Linked DNA regions of Homo sapiens: region 2 is linked to region 1. The links are contacts of gene promoters, found by promoter capture Hi-C in human tissues and cell types (Jung and others, 2019). All regions are on one chromosome and are shown on one strand. The core of a region is centred on a gene start or on the middle of the fragment in contact, and the rest is flanking DNA. Distances in the headings are between cores, read along the strand shown.

What was found. The method cuts DNA at HindIII sites, captures the fragments that hold promoters and counts their contacts. A contact is called where the count stands out against the background at its distance.
Region 2: a contact is called between a fragment that was not itself captured here and the fragment with the promoter of MRPL21 in region 1, in 1 of the 25 tissues and cell types used here (IMR-90 fibroblasts).

The regions. Positions count from the first base shown.
Region 1 is chr11:68,900,645-68,905,556 of GRCh38, forward strand. MRPL21 (mitochondrial ribosomal protein L21) reads right to left here and starts at 3,188. Exons shown (of 7, transcript NM_181514.2): 1 at 3,079-3,188. The coding sequence starts at 3,166. It overlaps IGHMBP2 (immunoglobulin mu DNA binding protein 2), which reads left to right and starts at 3,247. Exons shown (of 15, transcript NM_002180.3): 1 at 3,247-3,394. The coding sequence starts at 3,309. RefSeq lists enhancers at 3,061-3,788, 3,220-3,339, 3,670-3,729. The HindIII fragment of the contact is 6,843 bases long and covers 1-4,912 here.
Region 2 is chr11:68,652,371-68,657,282 of GRCh38, forward strand. No RefSeq gene overlaps it. Among named protein-coding and RNA genes, the nearest start is that of GAL, 30 kb to the right of the region's middle. RefSeq lists an enhancer at 1-430. The HindIII fragment of the contact is 5,786 bases long and covers 136-4,912 here.

The sequences.
Region 1 (4,912 bases), core at 1,938-4,437:
CTACAAATGCAAACTGCCCTTTATGATGCTAAATGCACAGCTGCTGCTCCTGGTACATGGTATGAACCACTGCATGACAGCCTGCCCACAGAAACACCTAGGTGAGCAAAACTACAAGAACGTCACTTACAGCTACTGGTTATATGTGTTGAGATCAGTTAGCCACATCATCTACAAGCGCCTGAGACCAGAACCACCCGTCCACTAACTCATGCCTTGACTAAGTGCCTGGTAGGTTCAGACTCTGATCTGTGCCCAAGCGTGGGAGCAGCCTCCAAGATGGCCCTGCTGGGCCCCGCCTCCTGCTATTCTTACCCCTGTTAGCCCCCTGGGAGTGGCCTGTGTGTCCAACAGCTAGTGACAGACATGCTAGCACGTGGCTTCTGGGATGAGGTGATAACCAACTGGGACTTCCATCTTGGATGCCTGTGCTCACCCTTTCTGATCTCTGGCCTTAGGGCTGCCCTGCTGTGAGCAGCCCTACCTAGAGGTCCACATGGCGGGGAACTAGGCCTATCGCCAACACCCATGGGAACGACCTTGCAGGTAGATTCTCCAGCCGCTGGCGCAGTGGAGTCTTGAGATAACTACAGCCCCTGCAGACTTGCTTGCTGCAAGCTAAGACCCTGAGCCAGAACCAGCCACTTAAGCTGCTTCTGTGTTCCTGGCTCTCAGAACTGGTGTGAGTTAATAAATGTTTTAAGCTGCTAAGTTTTGGGGTAATTTCTGATGTAACCGTAGATAACGCATACACCAGGAATACACCAGGAAACAAAGACATTCAATCTACTGAGAAGACAGGGGATCAAAATAAGTGCTTAGGTGTAAAAAGCAGAGAACAGTTTCTCAATAACCACTTTTAAAGAAACTCAGCTATAATTTACACACCATAAAAACCACCTTTTTAAAGTTCACCCATTAGCACCAGCTCCCCATTTGCATCTCCTCGGCTGCTTTCTCCTCTCCTCTCCCATTTGGGCATCCGGGGCTCAACCCTTGGCCTTGACCTCCTCTCCGCCCATGGCCATTCCTCTGGTGACTGCATCCAGTCCGATGGATTTAAACACCCCCAATGTGCTGGTGACTCCCAAGTTTACACCTCCAGCCAGGGCTTCTCTCCTGGTTTTGCATACCCACCTATCTATCTGCCTTAGCCACTCGTGTCTGACGAGCACCTCACACCTCCAGAGGCTCCTCATTTCTTCCCATGCCTGCTTCTCCCACACTCCTCCCTCTCACATGAGGGCAACTTCATCCTCCCAGTTGCTCAGGCCCCAAACCTCCATCAGTTTTGACTCTTCTCTCGCACACTACTCAGTCAACCCATTGGCAAATCCATCCCACTATTAAAAACTTAGCAGGCTTCTGTACCTAATTTGCTTCTAGCTTTGTTTTTGGGTCCCCAGGGAACAAACAGTCTCCTTCCTCTCCCACAGGATTTCCTTTAGGTAGTCCTAGAGACTGTGACTGTGTACTTCCATCACGTCTCCTTTGCTCACTCTTCAAGGCCCCAGCTGCTCACTGTTTTGGTCACCTTGTCTCTACTCGCTTCACTGTGTGTCTTTCTCTCCTAATGCGTGAGTCTGTACTTGAACATAGCATTGGAGGGGTGGTTTCATGTAGGTAGGTAGAATGGAGTAAGTCCCACTGCTTTTGTAAAAACTTTCCTGCCTACTTAAACCTAAGTTTTATTATGGAAAATGTCAAGCATACAAAAGTAAAGAGAACAGAATAGTGAACTCTCTCAATTATCCCTTTCCAGGTTCAACAGTTACCAACTCATGGCCAATTTTGGCATCTACATTGCCTCTGGCCCAACTCTGTGATTATTATTAATTTCTTAATAGACTTTATTTTTTAGCACAGTTTTAGTTTCACACCAAAATTGAGTGGAAGGTACAGAGAGTTCCCATATGTCCCCTGTCCATGTGCCCACAGCTTCCTATCAACATCCCTCACCAGAGTGGTACAATCTTTACAATTGATGAACCTACATTGACACATCATTGTTATCCAAAGTCCATAGTCTACATTAGGGGTTCACCCTTGGTAGTGTACATTCTATGGATTTGGACAAACTTATAATGACATGTATCTACCATTATATCATACAGAATAGTTTCACTGCCCTAAAAATCCTCTGAGCTCCACCTATTTATCCTTTTCTCCCCCAATCCTCTTACCCCCCATGTAACTTTTTACTGTCTCCTTAGATTTGCCTTTTCCAGAATGTCATAGTGGGAAACATACAAGATGTCCCCTTTTCAGGTTGGCTTCTTTTACTTAGTAACATGTATGTAAGTTTCCTCCATGTCTCTTCATGACTCATTTCTTTTTATTGCTGCATAATATTCTACTGTATGGATGTCCTACAGTTTATGTAACCATTCATCTCCTGAAGGACATCTGGGTTGCTTCCAAGTTTTGGGAATTATGGTACTATTCTTTTAATATCGTCCAATATAGAGTTAGATCCAGTTTTCCATTTTTGGGGGTCATGGTGAGACATGAAACCCAGGTTTAAAACATACATAAACACTCATGCACACAAATACACACTCCAACCATTTTCAAGCAGAGATTTATAGAGTTTTTAACGGACATAACCTTTTTGGAGCCTCGTATCAGCCCAGCGCCTTAAATACGGCTGTTTCTTTTGCAGAATGAGTTCAGATTAGGCGAGGATATCCATCACCATTTTTCAGACCAGCTCGCAGCCTGGGGGCAGTGGTTCAAGCACAGGCTTTGGAGCCGAAATGACTGCGCCTGAAGTACTCTTCTTCCACTTCCCCGCTGTGTGACCCTGGGCACGTTACCTAGCTCCTCTGAGCCTCACTCTTCTCCCCCATAACATAGGGCCTATACCAAAGTTCAAGGGCTATTGTCAGTATTCAGGCTACTAACTGAAGGAATCAAAATCTGAACCTGGGTTCCCCCGACTCCAAAACCCGTGCTATATTCACCACAAATGCGATCAACACACAAGGCACCAGGTCGGACCCAGGCACATACGTGGCGAGACCGCAGGGAGCAGCGCTCGCTCTGCGTCCTCCCTTCCTCCCATATCCCAGGTCTCACCTGCTCCGGGCCCCGAAGGTCTCAGGATGCTGTGGCTGCACGCGGACGCCAGCCGCCCTAAGGTGACCGTCAGGGAAGATGCTGCCATGGCCGCAGCCTCGGCCGGAAACGGAAACGACGCGAACCGCGTGCGTAACGCACGGGCCCGGCGGGGAACACCGGTCCGCTGTAACACCGGCCCGGCGCAGAAGCGGGACGTCGGCTTCTAGGGGCCCAGGCCGGCGGCGGCGATGGCCTCGGCAGCTGTGGAGAGCTTCGTGACCAAGCAACTGGACCTGCTGGAGCTTGAGAGAGACGCGGAGGTGGAGGAGCGCAGGTACGGGAGGCCGCCGGCGCCGCTCCCTCGCGGTCGGTCCCGCCGTGTCCCGGGCAGAGTCTCCGAGGGGCTCGGCCTCATAGTCTGGGGCGGGAATTTCGTCTCCGACCCTTCGAGTCAGGGGCAGGGATCGTCCGTCCCCTGCTTGGCCACCTCCCGAGTTGTCAGTCTCATCACTTCCTGGGCAGCGCGTTCCGTTTGGGGACCCTTAAGAAGCACTTTGATTTCCCGACCCGAGACCCCCCACTAAGCTTACACTCCTGGGCCCTGGCCCCGACCCCAGTTCCACCCGCAGCGAGTTAGCAGCCCTTTCCCTTATTCATTCAGTAAACATGGTTTGCGCCCATTCTCAGTCAGGCCCCGGCAGCATGAGTCAGGTGCACTGGCTGCCCCCGATCCGGCCAGCGGCGGGCTGGGCATAAGCAGAGAGTCCCTTCCCCTCCAGTGCGTCCAGGGCCGGCTGCGTGCGTGTCGCGGGGAAAGAGCCTGGAGGAGGAAGGCCCTTCCCTGGGGAGGGTCATGGTGGCTTCAAGGAGGGAGTGGTGCCTGAAGGAAAATTGGAGTTAAGCTGGTGGGTGCGGAGTAGGGTGGGGAGCCGTCCTGAGAGGTGTGGGGAGCCATGTGAGAGCCGGGCTTGTTTCCGAATGGGACTATTTACTTGTCCAAAACAATCAGAGCTAACACTTACGTACTTTCCATGCGTTAATTCTTTTACACCTCATCCCATGCCAACCCTACAGTGTAAGTTTCTTTTTTTTCTTTTTCTTTTTTTTTTTTTTAGACAGAGTCTCTCTCTGTCGCCCAGGCTGGAGTGCAGTGGCACGATCTCGGCTTACTGCAGCTTCCATCTCCCGGGTTCAAGCGATTCTCCTGCCTCAGCCTCCTGAGTGGCTGGGACTACAGGCGCGCCACCACGTCCTGCTAATTTTTTGTATTTTTAGTAGAGACAGGGTTTCACCATGTTGGCCAGGATGGTCTCGATCTCCTGACCTCGTGGTCTGCCCGCCTTGGCCTCCCAAAGTGTTGGGATTACAGGCGTGAGCCACCGTGCCCGGCCGCAGTGTAGGTTTCTGTTACTGTCATTTTCCGTCTAAGGAGATGGAGACAGAGAGGGGTTAAGTAACTTGCCCCGGGGTGACACAGTGTAGCCCGATTTGCTGTCAGGCAGTCTGCTTCCAGAGTTTGCAGTCAGCCATATGTGGGTAGGATTTGTCTGAGATGCTTTTGATCATGGCAATGGAGAGCTTTTGCAGTTATGTTGAGTTTCTTAGAATCCCAGCTGTTTCATTTATGGCTGTGTGACTTTGCAGGTTCTGTCTCTGAGCCTTACTTACTTCATCTGTAAAACTGGGATGATTCCCACCTCACAGGCTTGCTCTGAGAATGAAACGATCCCCTGTCAGTCAGGTGCTCAGCGTGGTGCCAAGGACAGAGTCAGCCCCCATGGCAGTGGCTCTTTCTGAGGATGCTGAGCAGACTGGCAGGGCGAGCCTGGGAAGGGCCTGGCTAAGGAGCTAG
Region 2 (4,912 bases), core at 1,779-4,278, 250 kb before region 1:
TATGGGAGTCGGGCCCCACCAGGAAGGGGGTAGGAAGGGGCCGCAGACGTCCTGCTCACCAGTGCCCCCTGGGACACCCTGGCCTTGGCGGCTAAGGGACCATGAAGGCTTGCTCTTAGATCCGTGTCACTTGTCCCCAGCCTCCTGAAAGACAGCCCTCATGACAGTCCAGCTCAGTATTCTGCCCCAGGGCACGTGCAATTTTAGGAGATGTTTTTGGTTGCCACACAGTGGGGAATGGGGAGGCTGTTGCTGACATCAGTGAGTGGAAGCTGGGGGGCCGTTCATGTCCTCCCAGGCATGGGACAGCCCCTCACAGCAGAGAACCATGTGGCCCCCAGTGTCAGTGGTGTGGAAGCAGAGGCACCTTGGCCTAATGGATCTACATCTGGGGCTACAGGTGGAGAGAAAGAAAAAGGAAATGAAAGCAGAGGCGCAGAAAGCAGCCCAGCCTCTGCCGTGCTGGGCCTCCTGGAAAGGAGAAGAGGGCGGGCTGGCCCCAGAGGCTCCGCTGGGCAGAGCTACCCTCCCTCAGCCCTGGGCCCCGCAGCTGGGTCTTTTGGGCCCCATTAAAGCTGGCCTTGGGTGTCCTTGGGCCTTGGCAGGACCTGCAGCCACCACACGGGGTGGAGGCCTGCCAGGGTCCTTGGGTGGTGGCTCACGGTTTGGAGCAGGCCACCTGAGCATCCCGTGTCCAGGGGCAGCACCCTGTGCATCAAACTCCTCACACAGGGAAGGGTTTCCGAGGCCCTCCCTATACCTCGGCCTCGCTAAATGCCTGGGCGGGCTGAGCCCACTGAGCCCTAACCCCATCAAAACACTTGTCACCTTGTCACTTGGCTGTGAGTACTCAGTCCCTCTGCTCCCCACTAGCCTGTGAGCCCCTTTACCAAAGACTCCTCTCCTCCATCCCCACAGCCCAGCGTGGACATCATTCATCCTCCCTGAGCACAAAGCTCGTTCTAATGCCCCAGCCTAGAGTCTCAGAGGCATCCCTGTGGACCAGTCCCGATGCTTTGCTGCAGGTGATAAAGGCAGATGTGACTCGCTCTGCTTCCCAGGGGGGCAGGCAGGGGCCAGGGTCCTCAGTGCTGGGGAGCCGTCATCTTCAGAACATTGCCTCTCATCCTCGTGTGTGTGACCGCATGGTCTTAAGATGGCTGCACAGCTAAAGGCATCACACCAGTGTCCCAAACAGGGAAGAGAGCTTCTCCCTACCCAGCTCTGCAGGCCAGGATGGGATCACCTGGGAACTCCGTCATCAGGTGCTTGGCTCAGGCCTATCCCCAAGGGCACAACCAATGAAAGTTTGTGGGGTAAAGGAGGAGTGAGTGTAGCAAAGCAAAGCCCTTCGACGTTCTCACGTTTGTGGGGCCACATGTGGAGCGATGACTTCGGGCGCACCTCTGTGCTGCCTCCCACTGGCTTCCCAAACCTCAGGGTGCAGCCTGCCTCTGGAGGCAGGAGCAGGGCCCTGGGCGGCTGGGAGTGGCTGGAACTGGGGACATCACCCACGCAGGTGGCCTGGGACACACTGGATGCGTGAGCCTGGAAAGGGGCCAGGAGGAGGGGTCTCCGCCCTTCTGGGGCAGCCTGAAACTGGCAGATGTGGCAATGCTAGTTCTGTTCCAGACCCCCTCTGTGAAGTGCCGTTTCCATGCTGCCCTCACTGGACCAAGGGCACAGCTGTGGAGGAGTGTGAGCGAGGGATCCCCACAAGGACAAAAGCAGAGACCATCCACTGAAGATGCACCTCCAATCCCTCCTGGTCACGCCCAGCCCCGCGCCCAGGGGCCATCTCAGGAGATGCCCTGGCCAGGCCTCTAACCATATCCGGCTCTTGCAGCCACTGAGTCCAAAGCCACCTGGCTCAGGTCCTGGAATGGCACTGCAGGCTTCTGTGGGTGCCAGTGATGGCAGAGAAGAGGGTCCCCCAATGGCACCTGGACAGCCTGGGCAGATGCTGCCGCCCAGCCTCATGGTCTCTGGTGGGGTGGCCGAGGATGGGTGGTGGGGTGCGCCTCTCTACGCATCAGCCCTAAAAGCCTAAGACGTGGGTCCTAGAAGTCACGCCTCTCCCCAGAAACCCTTCATGGCTCCCTAGTACCACAGGCGCATTCAGCCTCCTCACACGCTGGCCCCAGCCCCCACAGCCCCTCAACTTCCCTCCCCACTTCCCACTACACCCTCTGTGAAAGCCCAGCTCATCTTTCAGGCAGGCCAAACCCAGGTTTGCCGGGTCTGAGCTTATATAATCTGGGGGGCCTCTTTAAGAATAAGAATATAGGCTGCGCACAGTGGCTTATGCCTGTAATGCCAGCACTTTCGGAGGCCCAGGCGGGCAGATCACTTGAGGTCAGGGGTTCAAGGCCAGCCTGACCAACATGGTAAAACCCCCACCTCTACTAAAAATACAAAAATTAGCCGGGCGTGGTGGTGCACTCTTATAATCCCAGTTACTTGGGAGGTCGAGGCAGGAGAATTGTTTGAACCTGGGAGGCGGAGGTTGCAGTGAGCCGAGATCACACCGCTGCACTCCAGCCTGGGCTATGGAGCAAGACTCTGTCAAAAACAAAAAAGAAAAAAGACAAAGAATATAAAATAACTAAGACAAACACAGGCATAGAAGTGAGTATCGCTTAGACTGAGAAATGAAGTCACAGAAAACTACAGATTTTAAAAAGCTGATTAGTGTCATCAACATTACAAAATGTGGAAAAATCACAGTTCTTCTTAGTCACCTGACTCGCTCTACAATACCTGTGCCCCGGTATTTTCGAATGTGTGTACTCATTGTTCATCTCTCATAGGACAAGGACTTTGTTTTATGATTTTCTGCAGAGAGAACAGAAAGATGATATGGCCTCTCCTCCTCCACGATGGATACGAATTTACTTTTCATTATTGATGGTGTAGAGAAAGTTCCTGAAGCTTCACAACCCAATGCTGGTGACGTTGTGTACATTCTTAGGATTGGTATCATTCGGGAAAGCCTCTCCTGAGTTTCTTTTGTGTGTCAGTGTCCACAGATGGGCTCGTTTGTAGTGGGAGCTGCAGTTCCTTGTTCTGCAAACAGGAATTGTGACGAGTTTTGCTTTATTCAGTTCCCATCACAAAAGGAAAGAATGTGCAAAAGTGGGTTTGTGGCCATGATCTGCGTGAGCGAGCGTATTCCTGGCAGGAAAGTGCTTTTGTCTGACTGGGCTGCAGCAGGGGCGGCCCCTCTGCTGACCATCCACATGTCTGCTGATTAGAGGGCGTTCCCATGGGCCAGCTTCAGTTCCATCCATCACCCAGGTTCCTGGGCACCCCTACCTCCATAGCTGGATGCTGTGGGATGGGTCATATACCACATCAGGCCTCACCTTTCTGCATCAAGCCAGCAAATTTGCACCTTGTCCCTAGACAGAGACATTCCCATGTGGGGAGGACCAGTGGCAAACTAACTGCACCAGAAGAGACCTTGAACCACATAGATATACCCCACTGTGGTGAGTTGAATTATATGCTCTAAGAGGACAAGTTCAAGCCCTGCAACTCTATGGAACTGAACTCAGCCAATGACCTGAATCAACTTGGAAGCAGATTCACCAACTGGGCCTCCAGGAAGGAACGCAGCCCGGCCCGTCCCCGGGTTTCAGACACGTGAGACACAAGCTGAGGGCTGATGAGCCCTGCTGCACCCAGACTTCTGACTTGCAGCAGTGACGAGATCATAAATGGGCATTGTTTTACGGCGGGAAAAAACTCTCAAAGCCTAACCCCAGTGCCTGGGAATGTGACCTTCTTTGGAATGGGGTCTTTGCAGAAGTCATCAAGCTAAGATGAGGTTAGATTGGGTGGTGGTGGTAGGTGGGGGGGTCCTAAATCCATGACTTGTGTCCTTCTAAGAGGGAAATGTGGATTTAGGACACAGAGACACAGATACACAGACACGCAGAGGGGAGAAGACCAGGGGGACAGGTGGAGGCTGGAGTGAGGCACCACCGCCATGGAGTGCCAGGCACTGCCACCAGCAGAAGATGGAAAAGGCAGGACACACCCTCACCCCTGGCCCCCTGGTTGTGAACTTCTGGCCTCCAGACTGTGGGAAAATAAATGTCTGTTGTTTTAAGCCACCCAATTTGCGGTCATTTGTTACAATAGCCACAAAAAAATCTCACCCACCCACCCAATCCACACTAAAGGTGTCCCCAGCTCAACCTCCCCTCAGCCAGATCCCACAAATGTTTACAGCCCCTAGTACCACTGCAGCAGAGGGGACCTGAACTCCAGAGCGCAGCCAGCCTACAGTCCTCACCGACTGAACAAAGCGTCTGACTTCTGCAATTTTTGTTTTTTGAGATGGAGTCTCGCTCTGTTGCCAGGCTGGAGTGCAGTGGCACGATCTCTGCTCACTGCAACCTCTGCCTCCCGGGTTAAAGTGATTCTTCTGCCTCAGCCTCCTGAATAGCTGGGACTACAGGTGCACGCCACCACGCCCAGCTAATTTTTGTATTTTTGATAGAGATGGGGTTTCACCATGTTGGCCAGGATAGTCTCAATCTCCTGACCTCATGTTCTGCCTGCCTTGGCCTCCCAAAGTGCTGGGATTACAGGTGTGAGCCACCATGCCCGGCCAACTTCCGCAAATTTTAAATGACTGTGTGGATGCTGCTGGGACCCTCCCAGAAGGGGTGTGTGCAAGAGAGGGGCTCTAAAAATTGAGGTCTCTCAGCCTCCAGGGAAATTGCCAGCCTTTAGAGCTCTGCTTAGTTCACCCAGCCTTCCCCAGGGGGCCTCCGTTCTGGCCCTCTGGGTCCGTCTCTTAGCACTGTGACCTGCGCTGGCTGTAGGACCCTTTCCCTTCCTCCAGGACCCCTGGAACAGGGCTTCCCTGGCAGAGCTCATCATGAGAATCTCCTGGGAGGAC